Linked DNA regions of Homo sapiens: region 1 is linked to region 2. Evidence: promoter capture Hi-C in 16 types of primary human blood cells and fetal thymus (Javierre and others, 2016). All regions are on one chromosome and are shown on one strand. The core of a region is centred on a gene start or on the middle of the fragment in contact, and the rest is flanking DNA. Distances in the headings are between cores, read along the strand shown. Region 1 has its middle 2.7 kb from the start of GCSH. Region 2 holds the start of GINS3 (GINS complex subunit 3).

Region 1 (4,736 bases), core at 1,475-3,974, about 23 Mb before region 2:
TGAGCCAAGATTGTGCGACTGCACTCCAGCCTGGGCGACACAGTGAGACTCCATCTCAAACAATAAAATAAAATAAAATAAATAAAAATAAAAACTATGACTTCCCCTTAGAAAGAAAAGCCCCCAAAGAAGATGGTTCTATGGGCATTGCCTGGTTCTTTCTCTTGCAGCTGTCGGAGGAAGGGGAGATCGTAGATTTGCTGCTGATGAAAATACTCAGTTTCCTGGGCATTAAGTCTAAGAGAGAGGAGCCTGGAAGCAGCAGGGAGCAGCCTGGGTCTCTGTCCCAGACTCGCCACTCTCGACCAGCACAAGCTTTGCCCAAGGACTAAGCTGTTCGTCCACACGCCACCATCTACCAGTGGGGACGCCCAGGGCCTCGGGCGTACGCTTACCAGCGACTCTATAGTCTCTCTAGGTCATAGCTTTCATGTCCATTGAAGAATTACCAAGCCCAGCAAGTAAAAAAAATTACAATAACAGAGATATATGTAAAATTGCCAATACTATGAGAGCTTCTTTGTTCAAATGTATTTCCTCTTATTATAAATAAAACAAATATTACATGGAGTTTGGAAAATTTCCTGCACAGACTAATTATTTCGTCTTTTTAGTCCGTTGGGGGTTGCTTTTGAATGATTCTAGTTCAGGGCTTCTCAAACTGTCTGAGAGATGCTAATGGATGCTGTATTAGTTTCCCAGAACAATGTATCACAAACGAAGTGGCTTAAAACGACAGAAATGCATTCTGTCCCAGCTCTGGAGCCTGGAAGTGTGCAATCAAGATGTTGGCAGTGGCCGGGCATGGTGGCTCACGCCTGTAATCCCAGCACTTTGGGAGGCCGAGGCGTGCGGATCACTTGAGGCCAGGAGTTCGAGACCAGCCTGGCCAACAGGGTGAAACCCTGTCTCTACTAAAAATACAAAAATTAACCAGGTGTGGTGGCGGGCGCCTGTAGTCCCAGCTACTCAGGAGGCTGAGGCAGGAGAATCCCTTGAACCCGGGAGGCGGAGGTTGCAGTGAGCCTAGGTGGTGCCACTGTACTCCAGCCCGGGCGACAGAGCATGACTCCGTCTCACAAAAAAAAAAAAGAAAAGAAAGAAAAAAGATGTTGGCAGTGCCATGCTCCCTCTGAGGGCTCTAGGGAAGAATCCTTCTTGCCTCTTCCAGCTTTTGGTGTTGGCCAGCCAGCCTTGGTGTCCCTTGGCTTCTAGATGTGTCACTCCCAGATGGGAAGAAGCTTGCTGGGAGCCTGTGTTCCTTCTCCTTTTCTCAGCACACCAGCCATATTGAATTAGGGGCCCACCCTAGTCCAGGGTGACCTCATCTGAACTAATTATAATACATCTGCAGGGATCCTGTTTCCCAATATGGTCACATCTGAAGAACTGGGACTTAGGACTTTGACATACCTCTTTAGGAGCCACAATTCAAACCAGAACAGGTGTCATTCCTCCAAAAATGTTTCTGGGTCAAATAAATATGGGGAATACTGGTTTATAAAAGTTTTTTTGTTTGTTTGTTTGTTTGTTTGAGACAGGGTCTTGCTCTGTTGCCCAGGCTGGAATGCAGTGGCATGATTTCAGCTCACTGAAACCTCTGCCTCCCAAGATCAAATGATTCTTGTGTCTCAGGCTTCCCAGTATCTGGGACTACAGGCACACAAGAGCATGCCTGGGTAATTTTTGTATTTTTTTGTAGAGACGGGGTTTCACCATGTTGGCCAGGCTGGTCTTGAACTCCTGGCCTCAAGTGATCTGCCTACCTAGGCCTCCCACAGTGCTGGGATTACAGGCATGAGCCACCGCACCCAGTCTACTGTATTGTTATAAGAGGAAAATATGTCTATCAGCTCAAAGAGATGAATGGGCCCCTCTCAAAACACCTGGAAGAAATGACCACCTGGAATTTTCCAGAGCTTATACTCAATGGGCAACGAGATGACCTTTAAAATCTCAAACCAGGAGGTTACAAAGATTACTAGGTAGAAAAAGAAAAAAAATTTTGACTGTCTTCAATGCTTTTTACCAAAAGAAAAACACATGTCATATTTTTTGGTGGAAGGGCCTTTTTGTAGCCCATATGTTGATGTTGATGTGTGATCTTTTTCTTCCCATCACATGAGTTAGTGAAGCTGAGAATAAATATGTTAGGGTGTAAGTGGCACGATGCTGCACTGTCTTGTAATGAAACAACAATAGAAAACAACATCTTGACATTAGAGAAGGTAGCCAAGATCTGTAGTGCAGGGTAGACCAGCGTGATCCAGTCAGCATCCCAAACGAAAGCAAGCGGAGCAGAGCTTAAGAGCAATTGCTGGCCAGGCACGGTGGTTCATGCCTGTAATCCCAGCACTTTGGAAGGCCGAGGTGGGTGGATTACAAGGTCAGGAGTTCGAGACCAGCTTGGCCAACATAGTGAAACCCCATCTCTACTAAACATACAAAAATTAGACGGGCGTGGTGGCACGTGGTCCTGTAGTCCCAGCCACTCGGGAGGCTGAAGCAGGAGAATTGCTTGAACCCGGGAGGCAGAGGTTGCAGTGAGCCAAGATCACGCCACTGCGCTCCAGCTTGGGCGACAGAGCTAGACTTCGTCTCGAAAAAAAAAAAGAAAAAAAGAAGAGTTGCTTTCTAATCAGTGTAGAGGCCAAGGTCTACTACTGCCACCTAGGAGCTACTTAAGCCACAAAAACGCCTCCCCGATCCCACTCCTCGGAAGTGCCTTCACCTCTGAGCCTCATCTATGAAATGAGTGTAACACCTGCCAGAAAGAGGTTTGGAGAGGATTAAAAAGATGTGTGCATAGTGCCAGGCACATAGCAAAGGCTCAATAGATGGGAATGATTTGCTCAAAAGAAAGTGGGCATGACGGCCCTTGCAAGCCACTGCACAGATGTGGTGGCAACCCTAAGTTCATAGCAGGGCAGAAGCTCAGTGCAACAACGTATGGGCTCCCCAAACACACACACACTCCATGGTGTGCACCCTATGGTACTGTTTCCGGTGTTTGAACAAGAACAACTCCATTTTGAATATGGGCTGGGTAAAATGAGGCTGAGACTTGGTGGGCTGCATTCCCAGGAGGTTAGGCATTCTTTTTATTTGTATTTTTTTCTGAAGCAGAGTCTCGCTCTGTCACCCAGGCTGGAGTGCAGTGGCGTGATCTCGACTCACTGCAACCTCTGCCTCCCAGGCTCAAGTGATTCTCGTGCCTCAGCCTCCTGAGTAGCTGGGATTACAGGCACCTGCCACCATGCCTGGCTAAACTTTGGATTTGTAGTAGAGACGGGGGTTTCTCCATGTTGGCCAGGTTGGTCTCGAACTCCTGACCTCAAGTGATTCACCTGCCTCACTTAGTCACAGGATGAGCTAGGGTTGGCACAAGATACAGGTCACAAAGTCCCTGCTGATAAAATAGGATGCGGTAAAGGAGCTGGCCAAAACTCACCAAAACCAAGATGGCGACCTCTGGTAGGTCTCACTGCTCATTATACGCTAATTATAATGCATTAGCATGTTAAAAAAAAAACAACTCCCACCAGCGTCATGACAGTTCACAAATGCAATGGCAACGTCCAGAGAAGTTACCCTATAGTCCAAAAAGCGGAGGAACCGTTAGTTCTAGGAAATCCCTGCCCCTTTTCTGGAGAACTCTTGAATGATCCACCCCTTGTTTAGCATACAATCAAGAAATAACTATAAGTACACTTAGTCGAGAAGCCATACTGCTGCTCTGTCTACGAAGAAGCCATTCTTTTTTTTCTTTACTTCTCTATTAAACGTGCTTTCACTTTATAGACTCTCCCCAAATTCTTTCTTGCATGAGGTCCAAAAACCCTCTCTTGGGGTCTGGATTGGGAGCCCTTTCTGTAACAGTACTAAAGGTGTGTGTGTAGCTTAAGGTGTTTTTCAGAACAGTATTTCTTTGCTGACTCATGGCCACTCCATAAAATCTGTGTTAAAGGTGAGGTTTTTCCCAGAACCTAATTTTTTTCTGACTTCTTGGATTGGGATGATGACTTCGGCTTTTCTCGGAAGGCCTTGGTCACACCGCTGGCCGATGAAACAAGGAATTGTGCACACTGGGTCTCAGCTCTCTGCGTTTTGAATATTTCTGCATTAGTGACTGGCTTGGGTCCAGTCTCCACCAAGAAGCCACTTATGACCCTTGGACAAGTCTTTATTCCTTTTTAAGTAAGCTTCTGGATTCTGCCGGTCCTGTTTGGGGTCCCTGGGGCTCTTTGAGACAGGAACGTTACAGAGCAGTTGAAGGAGAATAGAAACTTCCAGGCTGCAGTTCTGTCTAACAAAAGGAAACTGTTGAAATAGCTGCACAAGCTATGGGCTAAGACCCTGAAAAACCAGGGTGTGGGTCAACCTGGCTAAAACCAACTGGACCCAACGTGGTGTGGCTTTGACCTAGGCTTCACCTAGGACTCATTAACATACTAAGTCACACACCCACCGGCACCACAACAATTCCGGGAACACCCATATTTGGTGTAAAAATGGGTGGCACCACAGTTCTGACAAGTCTCCACCTTATTCCAGAAACCTTTGTGTATATTCCATTTCTCAAAGAAACCCATAAAGATGGAAACCCCAAGCCCCATTGTGTGGCCCTCTTTTGAGTCCGCCCTTTCTTCAGTGTGTACTTTGCAGTAAACCTCTGTACTTTCACGACTTTCCGACTTGTTCTTGAATTCCTTCGTGAGGTGGTGAAACCACCTTTG
Region 2 (4,648 bases), core at 1,387-3,886:
AAACCCTGTCTCAAAAAAAAAAAAAAAAAATTAGATAAAATGGTCAAAGTTTTAGTTAAAAACCAAATATACCAAAACTAACACAAGAAGAAATCAAGTCTGAATAATCCTATAAATGAAATTAAATGTCATACAAACCTTCCTACACAAATCTCCCATGCAGAAGGATTCTAAAGATTTAATGTAGACACTCTGCACTCAAAGAAGTGGAACATAACTCCCTACTCCTTCAGTGTGACAGTGATAATGACTTCCATCCAAAGAGTACAGTATGAAAAGGTGGAGAAACCTAATGAACATTACCTCTGCCAAGGTTCAAATGAACAGTACAAAGTCCTGTTGATAGTAGGCACCCTTAATATGTGATGAAAATGGCACTTTACCTCTGTGGTCTTCCTCCCTAAAGCTGATAATCAAGTCTAATGCTGAGAAAAAAAGAATAAAAAACAAAAACAAAGAAGGCTGGGCGAGGTGGCTTACGCCTGTAATCCCAGTACTTTGGGAGGCTGAGTTGGGTGGATCACTTGAAGTCAGGAGTTCCAGACCAGCCTGGCCAACCTGGTGAAACCTCATCTCTACTAAAAATACAAAAATTGGCTGGGTGTGGTGGTGGGCGCCTGTAATCTCAGCTACTTGGGAGGCTGAGGCAGAATTGCTTGAACCCAGGAGGTGGAGGAGGCTGCAGTGAGCTGAGATTATGCCACTGCACTCTGGCCTAGATGACAGGGTAACTCCGTGTCAAAAAAACAAACAAAAAAACAAAACCAAAAACAAAACTACCCCCAAACCAAAGATTTCCAACTGAGGAACATTTTACAAAATACCTGACCACCACTCCACAAAACCGTCGAGGTCATTAGAACAAGGAGGTCTGATTAATTGTCACAACCAAGAGAAGGCTAAGGAAACATGTCTACTAAATGCAGTGTGGTATCCTAGGTGGAATCCTAGAATAGAAAAAGGGCATTAACTAAAAACTAAGGAAATATGAATTAAGTATGGGCAGCATAGCGCCATGTTTACCAGTGTGTATGGGAACGAAATCCTCATCTGCTAGGATGAAGTCAACAGATAATGTCTACATTAAAAAAAACAACCCAACAAGGTAAGTTTAAGAATATTATTTAGAAATATGAAGATGAATCTTGAAGACACCACTAAAAAAGGTACATGAGCCCTGTGGACTTGGAGGGGGAAGTGGGAAAAGGAAGGCAGGACCTGCTATTTTTTTTCTTATAAATCTTTTGGTACTATTTGACTTTTTTTTTTTTTTTTTTTGAGATGGAGTCTCACTCTGTCGCCAGGCTGGAGTGCAGTGGCACAGTCTCGGCTCACTGCAACCTCTGCCTCCTGGGTTCAAGAAATTCTCCTGCCTCAGCCTCCAGAGTAGCTGAGATTACAGGCGCCGGCCACCACACCCAGCTTTCTAGTAGAGATGGGGTTTCACCATGTTGGCCAGGATGGTCTGGATCTCTTGACCTCGTGATCCGCCCGCCTCAGCCTCCCAAAGTGCTGGGATTACAGGCGTGAGCCACCGCATCCGGCCTATTTGACTTTTAAAACGTTGGTTATGTATTACTTTGATAAAAATTAACTTGAAACAAACAGACCAAACAATAAACATCGTTCTATACAAAACTTAGGTGAAACAGGATATCCAAATTAATCATTACAAGCCATGTTCCTGGGACAATTTTATATTTGAAGCCATATGGCCTTGGGTTCCGAATCCCAGCTCACCACTAACTGAAGCCCTGGCCAAGTGACCCAGCCTTTCTGGTTGCTGAAGGATTAAAGGGAAAAGCTTACTCCCCACACCCAACCATGCTGCCACTAAGTAAGCCTCAGTAGGGCTTACTGATCCTGTCATCATTATGGAGGAATGAATTTAGCAACTTGGGGTTCCTACTTATCACATGCTCTTACAGAACCCAAAGCTGTTTTAAGGCAAACATGATCAGAACTCTAATTCTTAAGTATTCAGCTGGAGCCAATCTTTAAGCATTCAACACACGTTGCATGGGGTAGGGGGAAGACACTAATTTGGACAGTTTCAAAAAAGAAATCAATGTTGGAGGCTGCCTGGCGACCTAGGATAAATGTAGTTTCACCACAGATGGCGAACAAGAAGTCTGGAGACCACCCCGAGCGCGAAGGGACCCCCGCGGAGTTTCCGAGAAGTCGTTAGCGCCTTCGGCCCTGGCTCCTCGAAAACTACAAATCCCAAAGGGCAGCGCGCCCCGATGCGGCGTCCCAGGGCCGAGGGGCCCGCCGGGAGCTGCAGTCTTTCCGGGCAGGACCCCGCACCCAAAGGCTCACCTGTGGGACCGCGTTGTCAGTCTCGGCGCCTGCGCTCCGCTCCAGGAAGAAAGCGCCAAGGCGAGGCATGGCGGTCTCCGTGCGCACCGGCAGCTTCTCGTGGGACATCAGGATGTCGTCCAAAGAAAGAAAGTTCTCCTCAGGCCCCAGCGCACCCGACTCCACTCGGAAATAAGCCTCTGACATGGCGGCCACTTGAGCTTCTCCGCTTCCACTCGCGTGATTCGGAGGAGCCTCAGGAGTTAGGGGTGTACAAGACGGGGAAGCGGAGACTGGGCAGGATGGTTGGGGTCAGGAAAGTGGATTGAAACTCGTTTCCCGCGCCCGGGGACGCATCAGACAGGAGCAGTCAATTCGGGCGGTACCGCCCAGGCAGAAGCAATCGATCAAGTCTGCAGATTTAGAGCAGCGGGACACGGCTGGGGAGCGGTAGGTGGGGGCGCCGGAAGTTCTCTTCCCTCCGCTTGCTGCACGGTGTGGGAACGTTACGAAGAAGCTGGAACGCTCGTTGAAGCTCCTGGACCCATTTGTACTGGATTGTGTTCATGTGATCCTTAACTATTTATATGAAATTAAAAACACTTTGCAACACTTTTAGGGGTTTAAAATAAAAGCATCTTGTGCCCTTCACTCCAGGCCTAAGTCCGACCCTTTCCTACAGTTTTTTTCACTATGCAACTCCGTTAATCTTAGTATTTGAAAGAAATGTTAAACAAACAAAAACTTCCAGCACTATCCCCAGCGAGTTATTATGGTCTAGATGATGAACTAGTGTGTTGTATTTTGTTAGTATTTTGGTGGGGGTTGGACGGGGTGGGTAGAGGGGTGGAGCACTAGACTGCACATGGCTTGCTAAGGTTGTGAGTATACTTCAGGGTGTCTTAGCTCATCATCAACTGACAATCTCCTTTTGTGGCTCTGAATTTAAATCCCTAAAAATGGAAATCCAATTGGTCCAGTTTATTGATTGGTCCAGGTACGCCACAATGGTCATAGATCTCCAGCCACCCTGTAGATGGGGGTGCCTGTGTTGGGTGCGATCACTATCCAGTGACCAGGGGAAGGACCATGGTCGCATAGTACCAGGTTTGGTGGCTCTCCTCAGCCAGGGCTATGGGTGGCGGCATATTGTTGAGAGATGCACTACAGAACTTACTTCGTCTAGAGCATTTCTGGGGCTACTGGAGCCGGGAGTAAAGGGTGTGTGTGAAGGGAGGTGTGTATTAACCATGGATTTTAGTTTCTGTTTTCTGTATTTTATGATGCTTTGACATCTTGGGGCCTTGGGGACCTGGGGAGGAATTGCCCCTTTCAGAGTTAGCTAATTCCTAGAGATAGCAAACAACTTGCTTGTGAACACCCCTTTCATTTACAAACCAACCAACCCAAGCCTATATCCCCACACCATCTTTATCCATCTCACACACCAATATTTTCCCTGCCCCAAGTCACTGTAATAAACCACCCCATGGCCAAGTACCAGACAACTAAAATTCACCTCTATATCCCAGAGCTTGCCAACATTATTCAAATTATTCAATCCTAAGCTTGTTCAGACTTCCCTTCCCTGCTTCGCCCATTCCTTCCCACGGCAATAAAGGCTCTGGGCTTTCTCCTCGCTCTCTCTACCTCCTCATTGACCCTAATACTTTCTCGTGTGGCCGTAGGCACAGCCCCTTCTCTTGAGAACTATAATAAAATTTTCAAAGGCATTGGCCACTAACTCATTGATTGTCATCACCCAGTCACCTTTATAAATGAAATTCTGAGGACAATGAAAACAAGGTGCAGTGGGGTGGAAAGGAATGGCCAAACTGTGGAAAATCTTGGTACCATTCTAAGGAGTTAGGCCATTCCATAGAAAATGGGAGGAAAATGTAAGGCAAATAATAACATAAATCTGGGCTTCAGGAAGAGAATTCCAGCAGTAGATAAAGAAGAGAGAGATTAGATGCTTGGAAGCTGTTCAGTGGGCAGTATTTGGCAACCAATTGGATATAGGAAGTGAAGTATAGTGAGTAGTCAAAAGATTCAAGTTTTGAACGTGGCTGACCAGGTGGATGGACATGTCATGAATAGATACACAGAACACAGGAATAGGGGCAGCTGGAGGGAAGGGATGAGTTCAGTTTGGGACACATGGTGTCCAAGAGCTACTAGACAGGAAGGTCTGCAGCCCAGTGGAGAAAGCAGCCTAGAAGCTTTAGAGAGGAGGCACACTGAGAGGCAGTTATATGAAGGTTTTTTCCTTTTTCATATTTTAAATGTTCAGTTTGTGATACAGTCCAATGTAAAAATAAACACAATCTGCAGTGATAATTTAGAATTT

Evidence for each region. Contacts are between HindIII fragments. The CHiCAGO score rates a contact against its expected background, and 5 or more counts as called.
Region 1: a contact is called between a fragment that was not itself captured here and the fragment with the promoter of GINS3 in region 2, in 3 of 17 cell types (non-activated CD4 T cells, naive CD4 T cells and activated CD4 T cells). The highest score is 9.8, in non-activated CD4 T cells.

The regions. Positions count from the first base shown.
Region 1 is chr16:81,096,719-81,101,454 of GRCh38, reverse strand. It overlaps the pseudogene PKD1L2. Among named protein-coding and RNA genes, the nearest start is that of GCSH, 2.7 kb to the right of the region's middle. RefSeq lists a silencer at 4,724-4,736. The HindIII fragment of the contact is 2,961 bases long and covers 1,244-4,204 here.
Region 2 is chr16:58,390,459-58,395,106 of GRCh38, reverse strand. GINS3 (GINS complex subunit 3) reads right to left here and starts at 2,636. Exons shown (of 3, transcript NM_022770.4): 1 at 2,320-2,636. The coding sequence starts at 2,505. RefSeq lists enhancers at 1,843-2,419, 2,324-2,813, 2,420-2,997. The HindIII fragment of the contact is 2,062 bases long and covers 1,807-3,868 here.